Regions from separate parts of the Homo sapiens genome. Here all the other regions are linked to region 1. The links are contacts of gene promoters, found by promoter capture Hi-C in human tissues and cell types (Jung and others, 2019). All regions are on one chromosome and are shown on one strand. Each heading gives the region's core, a stretch centred on a gene start or on the middle of the fragment in contact. The rest is flanking DNA. Distances are from core to core; before and after follow the strand shown.

Region 1 (3,317 bases), core at 492-2,991:
AATATATGAATTATACCTCAATTTAAAAACAATTTAAGCCCTATACAGTGATGCATGCCTATAGCCACAACTACTCATAAGACTGAAGCAGGAGGATAGCTTGAACTTAGGAGTTTGAGAACAGCCTGGGCAACATAGAGAGGCCTCATCCCCCTCCCACCCCCACCCGAAAAAAAGCATTCATAGCTCATCTTAGTATAATCAGCAACTTCCAATGACTAACTATGCTTTCCTGCTAGACATGAATTTATAAAACACATAAAAATTATACTGTATCTGCTTCAATTCCTTTTTTCATATTGCCATTCAATTTTCACAAGATTACTTTAAATGCAATCCTAAATTCATCACCAATTTAACTTTTGTTAGTTATGTCTAAAAATAAAACTAGTCAAAATTAAAAATACTAACTTTGCAGCAAATTAATCTTGCATCAGCACTACAAACAAATTTTTAAACTTATTGTAGCAAAACATAACTTCGACAGAATCAAAGACATTAATTCTCAAGTCCAAAAAAAGGTCACAAGAAATTATTTAAAGTGGTAAAGGGAAACGCAGACTTAGGCATACAAGCCAAGAAAAAAAAAATTAGAGATAACTCCTCCGCTAGAACCTCCCCCCAATACTTCCATAGCAACAATTATTTCCTTAGCACAAAAGTGATGTGTTCACTTTCACAAAACCTGGATCATCTAAGTTTGCACAATTCCCTTCAATCTAAAAAACAGATGAAATTGTTTCATTTAGGTGAGTAGAATTTTGTGTCCCTATACACGAAAAAAGTCACCATCAGTGTGAGTAAACCACATGGCTCCAGCTTTAAGATCTTGTTCCCCAACCCACTGAAAAGAGTATATGCTTATAAAATATTCATGGACTTACCAGGTTAAAGACAGTTTCTACAATATCCCTATTGGATACTTCTCCAACTTCAACCAAACCGGTCAACACGGCAAATTTCATTCTGATGCCCCTGATGGGGAGCCCTGGTTTCAGAGACAATGCACCCCCTTCAGTAGGGGTTTCTTCTCTCCCTCCACCTCCCCCGTCATCACCTGTTGGTGGCGGGGAAGGGACACGATTGTCTTCGCTAGCCATTGCTAGCTCACGATAAAGGACAACTCAGAGTCACCCTGGGACGGCAGTCGCTGCACTGGTAATGAGCACAACACACGCAATGCAAAACGAAAGGGTCCCTCTTCCAACTTGTGGAGATACCCCAAAGCAGTTGATGTGGAAAGTCCTTGGCGTCGCCCTCCTCCTCTTGGAGAATATTTGTCCAATCTCTCTCCCCGAGGCTGACAACAACGCCAAACCCTATTGGAAGATTAAATATATGTTAAATAGGCTAGGTTTTGTTTTAGGGTTTTGAGGGGACAAGAGGGAAATAGTTATTGTCGGTCAAGTAAGTTACTAAAGGCACCCCACTACTAGCCACCCGCTTCTCCCGGGCTCAAAAAGCTGGGTTCTGGGTGAAGGCAGGTCCAAGAGGCCCCCGAACAGGCTCACTCCTCCCCCACTCTCGTGCAGGTTCTAGGCGCAGGGTAACCTCTCCTCACAGGTGCACTAGAAAGAGAAACTGTCGCGGGGAAAGGAGGGATCGGAGGAAAGAAGGGGGGCCCACAAGCTATCACAGAGGTAGAAAGTTCTTCCTCACCCAGATACTCCGGACTCGTCCTCACCCCCCGCCCAGGAGCAGCGAGACCGAGGTGGCGGCGGAGATCCAGGGCAGGAAAAGGCGGGGGAAGGGGGCGGTGATTATTCTAAATGCTCGGCCCAGTGGGAGGAGTGAAGCACCTCTCTCAGGCACCTGAGATTCGACGGGAAGGGGTGGGGAGGTGTGTGTGGTGGCAGGAAGGGAGGGGAGCGGCCAGAGAAACCCAGCGGCCACCGCAGGGAGAGAAGGGAGGACAGAGAGGTCAGTGCACCTGGTCGCAGCCTCCAAGTTTCCCTAGTCCGCTCCCCGGGAGTCCGCGGCTGCACAGAACTCCATGGCTTCCTGGCCCGCCCCGCCCCTGCGCTCAGCCTTTGCAAAAGCAGCCGCTGCTGGCGCTACGGGCGCCGCGGCTGAGGCTGCTGCGAGTGGTGAGGATGCTACTGCCACAGCTCGCCCCGCCACGGGTCGCGCGGCTGTCGTGTGCCCACTGAAGCTGCTCCCGGCCGCCATGACAGCGCCGAGTGCTGCCGGGCGCGGCGTGCGCGTGCGCGAGCGCGAGTGCGCGGGGCGGGAGGGCGCGAAGGCGGAGGCAGCCGCGCGGCGGGGGCGCGGTGACGACGCGCGGACAGCCAAGGGGGCCCCGAGCCAGCCGGAGTGCTGGGCTGGGGCTTCCGGCTGCACTAGGCGCGCTGCTCTGGTAGCACCAGGTGTGTACCCGGCCCGGCGAGGAGAGACCCTTCCGTCCGAGGGCCTACACTTTCCCCTCTCCCACTCTCGGACCTCGGGAGGTGCTTCTGCCAAGTCCTGAGGCGGGGATTTTGGCGCTCCTGCTGTTGTTAAGTTACCGTAGGGTCTCTTGGCGCGGAGGGAACACGCGCTGCGTTGCCTAGGTGTCTCATTGGACTTGGAGAAGAACACCTGAGGCACCTCTACGAGCCAGAGAGGTGACGGCGCTGGAGCCAGTGAGGCTGCTGTCCCTGCCCAATGGGAGCGAGGAGTCCCCACCCCTGGCTGCTTTCAGCTGTTGCCCGCCCGCCGCTCTCGGCGGAGACTTGGAGATTTCCACTGGGATACCTCGGCAGCTGCCGCCATTCGGGAGGGGAGGGGAGGGGACCGAGTCGACGAGGAATGGGAAAGATTCCTTGCTTTGCAGCTGCCGCGCCACGAAACCTCTCCCACATTCATTCTAGGCAGAGGATTCCTGAGACAGCTGCTATAAACAGCGTGGAGACAGGGTTCCTTGTGCCTGTAGACCTCCGAAGGGTTTTTTCCTCTCGTGATTTTCCAATGTGAAGATTAGGCTCGCGTCATTCTCAGAGTAGATCAAAAGATAAATTATATTAGGTAGTACAGATAGGTCCTCATACTCAGTGTCCCTTCTTTCCACCCGCTATTAACAGTAAACCATTCTTCCTAGTGAGTGAAAAATAAATTTAGAGGAAGGTGGTTTTTCACCCACGTGTATCCTTTGAGGTCAAAGGGCCTTTTTAAAAATACGCCTAGCTCCTAAAATGAAAGTGAAGCAAAAAGTGGGATTAAACAAAGGAAGAATTCTAGAGAACTTAGGAAAAAATTATAGTGGTTTGAGAAATAGTTTCCTGAAGAAAAAGTTATTTGAGATGGCCTTGAGAAGTGGACAGAAGCCGGGCGCGGTGGCT
Region 2 (3,317 bases), core at 321-2,820, 1.9 Mb after region 1:
TCCATTTAGTATTAAAGTATGAGATTCTTATTGACTTGAAAATGAAGGTCAAACAGCTGTGGTTGTATGGAGGGGTAAGGGTGAGGATAGCTGTTAGTAAGATAGCCTTCCGTGGAAATCTCTTCAATAACATTCTCAGTAATTGGTGTTTCAGTCTCAGTGTAAATCCTTTCATGGAAATTATATTTTTCAAAGGGTTCATTATGTATATGAATTTTAAAATTCATTTATATAAGTTTTACTTGATCCTTTTCTAAATTTTTCTGTTCCTTGTTCATAATGTCCTAATTTGTTCATAATGGTACTGTTTCTTTTATCTCTAATCATTTTAAATATTCATATTTTCTAGTCCTTCTGATTGTTTTAACATGTATGGGTTTTAAAGATGGATATTGTTTTCTTCCAAAAATACCCCCACCACCTCCTAGTTGAGAACTTTGTGAATCTAGTTTCTCTACTTTGCAATTGTCTACCTATCCTGAAATATATTTTCGTTAATAATAATCTCTTTCCCTTCAGCTTTTATTTCTAAACAGTTTATAATTAATTTGTAGAGGAGAAAACACTCTAGAGGTTAAATGGTTTGCTCACTTGTAGTCAATTTCAAAGGCAAAATAAGAACCCATTGGTTCTCTATGGTTCACATTTTATCAGTAGGCCTTATACCTGAGTATTAGTGCCCTAAGTATAATGTGGTATAAGATCTCAGATTATAAAATACAGTATATAGGTTCATTTGGAACTTTTGAACAAAATTATAAATCAAGTTACATGTACTTGGTGGCTGGTTTCTTAAGGGAAACCCTTACACAGCCTCTGTGTGTACTTTAAAAAACAACAACAGTAATGTTGTTTTTGTTTTATGTCATCCCGTAATTTATCCTTTTTTATTCAAATTACAATGTATGATCTTATTCATTAAGCTTAGCTTGGGGTTTGACTTTTCTGTTGTTTATGAAATAGCTGTGGAATTGGCTAGTTGTTAACACTAAAACCTTGCCTACTGATGGATAATAGTCAAAAAGAATCCAAGGTTAAAAGTTTTTCAGTAGCTGAATTTCCTTCTCTGTCAAAGCCAGAATTTACTGACTTTTAGGGCAAGGGTCATCTATTTGATCAGTGCAAAAAGTGGTAATTTAGGCAAATGCCCGAGTGGCCTTTTAATCCTCCCTATTATGCATTGTGTACAAGTATTTCCTAGCCCTCTGGTGCTTCATGTATAGAAAATCTTGTAACAGCCCATTCAACACTTCTCCACAGCAGCACCAACAAGGGAGTCAATTGTGGTCGAGACTTTTCAGATGTGGACACCTGTTCTCTAGAAGTTTTACATAAGCCATAAAGTAACCGTCACTAACTTTGTTGATACGGACTCAGTTCAGACGGGCAACCTTGAAGTGAAGTTGCTTTTTGAAAACTTAGTGAGCTTCTCTTCTTGGTGGTAATGAGCACTGTTAGAGAAGCTATTATGGAAAGTTTTACTTTGGTACCACCTACAAACTCTGAATGTAAAATTAAGAAATATAAGGTCAGTATTATAACTTTGAATATGTTTGAGTTAATCACTGTTGTTTAGAAATGCGCTCCAAGGCTATTGAAGGATATTTGTCCTTAGATTAAATCACCATGTATTACTATTTATTTAGTTCTACTTTTTTCTCTTTTATTTCCTATTGTTTTTAGTGTGCTTGCTTCTAGATACCCCTCTTCTAATTTGGCCATAATAATAAGCATTCTAAAGGTATCAGTTATTACCAGGTATCCTGTGTGTTTTATCTATATGAAGTTTTTGTGGAGATTTTTGTTCACATTTATAGATTGAAAAACTGGAGCACAAAGAGATGAAATAACCAGCTCAAGAATAGAGCCAAAAGGCAGAGAGGTCATTCAGCTTGGCTCCTGAACCCATGGATTTAACTAACTAGTTATTATTGCCAAGTCAGTCTTGCCTCCTAAATCTTTTGTATTTGTCTCCTTAGCTCCAATGCCTTTGTCCTGATTCAGTGACTCATTTCTTATATGTCCATCGTTTTCTAATAGGTTTCCTTGCTCCTGATTTTTTAATCATTTATTCTATCCTCCATCTCTTACACTACCACCAGGGTCATCTTTCTATCCTGATACAATCATGTCATTTTTATGTCAGATCAACATTCTTCAGTGGCTTCCCATTACTTCTCCTACTGGATTAAATTTAAACACTTTAACATGGCCTGTAGGGCTGCTTACTTTCAATCCTGCCTGCCTGTCTAATGTTAATTCCTTCCATTGTCATGTTCCAGCTTCAGATTCTGACATACCGAATTCCCAAATGTGTCATTGTATCTTACAAATCTATGCCTTTGTCCATGCTATTCTCTTCAGAATCAGAGTATCCTACTGATTTCTGTATCCCAATTCACCTAGCCAGCTTTTACCATCCTTCAAATTTTAATTATAGTATTTTAATTCTGTCTGAGATACCTTTTCAGATATCTAATTAAATAATTATTCCTCTTGATTTCCATTATACCTTACCCTCATTTATGGTAGTTCTTATTATCTCATTTTGTTGTAATTGTTTACAAGGTTCTCTTCCTCTAGAATGCGAGCTTCTTGAGGATAAACATATCTGTTCATCTTTATAGCTCTACTTTCTAACACAGTGCCTGGAACGTGGAAAGTGCTCACTTGAGAATTGTTGAATGAATCAGTGTATCAGTGAATGAATGAATGGTTCTCTTTTGACCCTGAAAGAGGCCAATTAAATTAAATCTTAACTCATACTGCTAAATTCAGTATGAGTTAAGAATAAATTAGGATCAGTGTGAAGGACTGATGTATTCTTTCTCAAGTCATATATACAATATAGATTATGTTATTTAAAGTATTGTTAATTCCCAGAATAGGAGATGTGAATTATACACCTAATATCTCCAAATAAAGAGCTTTAGTTTTAGGGTATAAGCTTTGTGATTCTGATCTTGACTAAATTAGAGGTCACTTTGCTTCTTCTTTGCTGAGTACCGAATAGTTGAAGCTGCTGGATAAATCACTGTTTAATAAGCAAGATAGTACTATACTTAGACAGGCACTGTGATAGAGCTATTATGAGGAGTTATGGGATCTTGGAGTGATGACAGTGGTGGGGTAACTATTTGAGTTGATGGGGGGAGAATATCAGAGTGAGGCATCTTACAGAACACAGGATGGTAAGTGCTCTACAATAGATACTGTTGTTACATTCTGAATACTGATGTTACAGAAATTCATCTAGAGTTGTGTTGTCAAGTATAGTAGCCACACATGTCTGGTGAGCACTTGAAATGTGGCTAGTC
Region 3 (3,317 bases), core at 505-3,004, 1.4 Mb after region 1:
TACCTAATCACAATTCCCTAACCATATTTTCTTTTCTCTGTATTCTACTTCTGATCCATCCAACTTGATTCTTTTTATCATATTAATTTATAGAAAATAGAGATTAATTAAATACACAAAATTATGTCTCTCAGAAGAGAGGCCAAAGATAGAATTGAGATTTCAGGACAAGAGTCAAAGTAAAAGTAGACCCACAAGCAGAAAAGAATCTCACTAATAAGATTGATAAAATTGTAACCACTGGCCAAATGTTTGAAAAATTGATAATACTGTTTAAAGTTGGTGAAATAATAATTTCAAAAGGAACTTACATTTGTTATTATGTTTAAAATATATATATCTTACATTTACTGTTTATATATTGGGGTTTTGTCAGGACAGAGGTGGGAACTGAAATATAAGCAAGATACAAAATTTATCCCCAGCTTTTTCACTCACTTACTAGCGTTAAGCAATTAACATTTTCAAGCTAAACCTTTAGAAGCTACAGGAGGACTCTGTGAAGATTCTATACTTGGCACCAACATCAATCCTTCAAATGTCAAGGAAAGGTAAATTGCCTATGGCATGGAAATTCTGCAAACAACCTTCAAAGTACCACAGAGTCATCTACTAAACCATTAAGAAATAGGATAGAAGGACTCTTAGCAAACTAGGAATAGAGGGGAGGAACTTTCTCAACTTGATAAAGACTACCTATAAAAAGCCTACAGCTAACATCACACTTAAGGATGGAAACTCAAAGCTGTCCTACTAAGATCAGACACAAGGCAAGAATGTCCTCTTTAACCACTGCTTTTCAACATCATAGGGGAAGTCCTAGTTAAAGCACAAAGACAAGAAAAGGAAGTAAAAGATAAAGAGATTAAGAAAGAGGAAATAACACTGTCTTTTTTGGCACATGACATGACCCTCTACATAGAAAATCCTAAAAAATTGACCAAAAAAAAGCAATTATAGCAAGGTTGCAAGATATAAGATTAATATATAATAAGTCAATTATTTTCCTACACACCAGCAATGAAAAAGTGAAATCTGAAATGACAAATACAGTATCATTTACATTAGCAGCCCCCTGAAATAAAATATTTAGGGATGAATCTAATAAAATATGTATAAGATCTACATAATGAAAACTATAAAACTCTGATAAAAAATCAAAGAAGAACTAAATAAATGGAGATATATTCCATGTTCTTGCACAGGAAGACTCAATACTGTCAAGATGTCAGTCCTTGCCAATCTCATCTATAGTTTCAAAGCAATACCAATCAAAATCCCAGCAAGTAACAGATATCAACGAACTGATTCTAAAACTTATATGGAGAGGCAAAAGACCCAGAATAGCCAAAACGATACTGAAGGAGAGGAATGAAGCTGGGAGATAGACACTCTCCAACTTCAAGGCTTACTATAAAGCTACAGTAACCAAGACAGTGTGGTATTGGTGAAAGAATTAAAAGTAGATGAATGGAACAGAATAGAGAGACCAGAATATGGTACAGTGATCTTTGACAATGGAACAAAGGCAGTACAATGTAGAAAAGCTAGTCTTTTCCGCAAATGGTGCTGAACCACCGAACATCCACATGCAAATAAATGAATCTAAACAAAGGCCTTACAACCTTCACAAAATTAACTCAAAATGGATCATAGACATAAATGTAAAGTGCAGAACTATAAAACTCTTAGAAGATAACATAAGAGAAAACCTAAATGGCCTTGGGTATAGACATGACTTTTTGCTGGGGTAGAGTGGTATGATCTTGGCTCACCACATCCTTGATGTCCCAGGCTCAAGCAATCCTCCAACCTCAGCCTCTCGGGTTGCTAAGATCACAGGAACGCACCACCATGCCTGGCTAATTTTGTGCATTTTTTTTTTTTAAGGAGGAGGTCTCAGTATGTTGCCCAGGCTGGTCTCAAACTCCTGGGCTCAAGCGATCCTCCCACCTCAGCCTGCCAAAGTGCTGGGATTATAGGTGTGAGCCATGGCACCCAGCCGGAAATGACATTTTAGATACAACAATACAATACTAACAGCATGATACATGAAAGAAATAATTCATAAGCTGGACTCTACTAAAATAGGAATGTCAGCTCTCTGAAAGACACTGTCAGGAAAATAAGAACATAAGCCACAGACTGGAAGAAAGTATTTGCAAAATGCACATGGGATAAACGATTGTTATCCAAAATATACAACAGTAACAGAACAACCTGACTAAAACATGGACAAAAGATCTGGACAGACACCTCACCAAAGGAGATTTACAGATGGGAAGTAAGCACAGGAAAAGATGGTCAACATCATATATCACTAGGGAACTTCAAATGGTAACAAAGAGATACCATACACACCTATCAGAATGGTCAAAATCCAGAACACTGACAACACTATATGCCACTGAAGATGTGGAGCCACAGGAACTCTCATTCACTGTTGGTGGGAATGCAAAAGTATATAGACACTTTGGAAGCCATTTGGCAGTTTCTTACAAAATTAATCATACTGTTAACTTGCAATCCTGGAATCACACTCCTTGGCATTTACGCAAAGGAGTTAAAAACTTAGTCCATGCAAAATCCTGCACACAGATTTTCACAAGCAGCTATATTCATAATTGCCAATTATGTGGAAGCAACCAAGATGTCTTTCACTAGGGAAGTGGATAAACTGTGGTATATCCAAACAATGGAATATTATTCAGTGCTAGAAGGAAATGAGCTATCAAGCTATAAATATACATGAAGGAAAAGTCAATGCATATTACGTAAGTGAAAGAAGCCAATCTGAAAGGCTACATACTGTATAATTCCAACTATATGACATTCTGGAAAAAGCAAAACTATGGAGACGGTGAAAGGATCAGTGGCGATGAGAGGCTGGGGAAGAAAGGGATGAATAGGCAGAACACAGGACTTTTAAGGTAGTGAAACCATTCTCTATGGTACTACATTGGTAGATGCGTGTCAATACACATTTGCCCACACCCACAGAGTGCACAACACCAAGAGTGAGACCTTGGTGGAAACTATGGATTCTGGATAATGATATGACAAAGGTAGATTCACTGACTATAACAAATGTACTACTCTGGTAAGGGTGAAGCTGTACATGTGTGCACCAGGGGGCATATGGGAACTCTCTAGGCCTCTCATTCAACTTTGCTGTGAATCTAAAACTAATCTAAAAATTAAAGCTTGTTAATTTAAAAAGACAGAATGGCTAATGCAGGAAGTCTCCAAAAAACATTTCGCAGACCTCAAGGATCAATAATTCAAAGACAAGGTTTCCTTGTAAAGGACAAGTGTAT

The links. Contacts are between HindIII fragments. The study calls those that stand out against the background at their distance.
Region 2: a contact is called between a fragment that was not itself captured here and the fragment with the promoter of LRBA in region 1, in 1 of the 25 tissues and cell types used here (lymphoblastoid cells).
Region 3: a fragment that was not itself captured here is called in contact with the fragment with the promoter of LRBA in region 1 in 1 of the 25 tissues and cell types used here (dorsolateral prefrontal cortex).

Annotation. Positions count from the first base shown.
Region 1 is chr4:151,013,543-151,016,859 of GRCh38, forward strand. LRBA (LPS responsive beige-like anchor protein) reads right to left here and starts at 1,742. Exons shown (of 57, transcript NM_001364905.1): 1 at 1,660-1,742; 2 at 885-1,319. The coding sequence starts at 1,100. RefSeq lists enhancers at 1,172-1,351, 1,532-1,661, 2,013-2,610 and a silencer at 2,162-2,311. The HindIII fragment of the contact is 20,752 bases long and covers 1-3,317 here.
Region 2 is chr4:152,884,139-152,887,455 of GRCh38, forward strand. The region is part of intron 7 of ARFIP1 (ARF interacting protein 1); the gene reads left to right. Among named protein-coding and RNA genes, the nearest start is that of FHDC1, 51 kb to the right of the region's middle. The HindIII fragment of the contact is 4,299 bases long and covers 1-3,317 here.
Region 3 is chr4:152,398,643-152,401,959 of GRCh38, forward strand. All of the region lies in intron 4 of FBXW7 (F-box and WD repeat domain containing 7), which reads right to left. Among named protein-coding and RNA genes, the nearest start is that of FBXW7-AS1, 63 kb to the left of the region's middle. The HindIII fragment of the contact is 6,303 bases long and covers 1-3,317 here.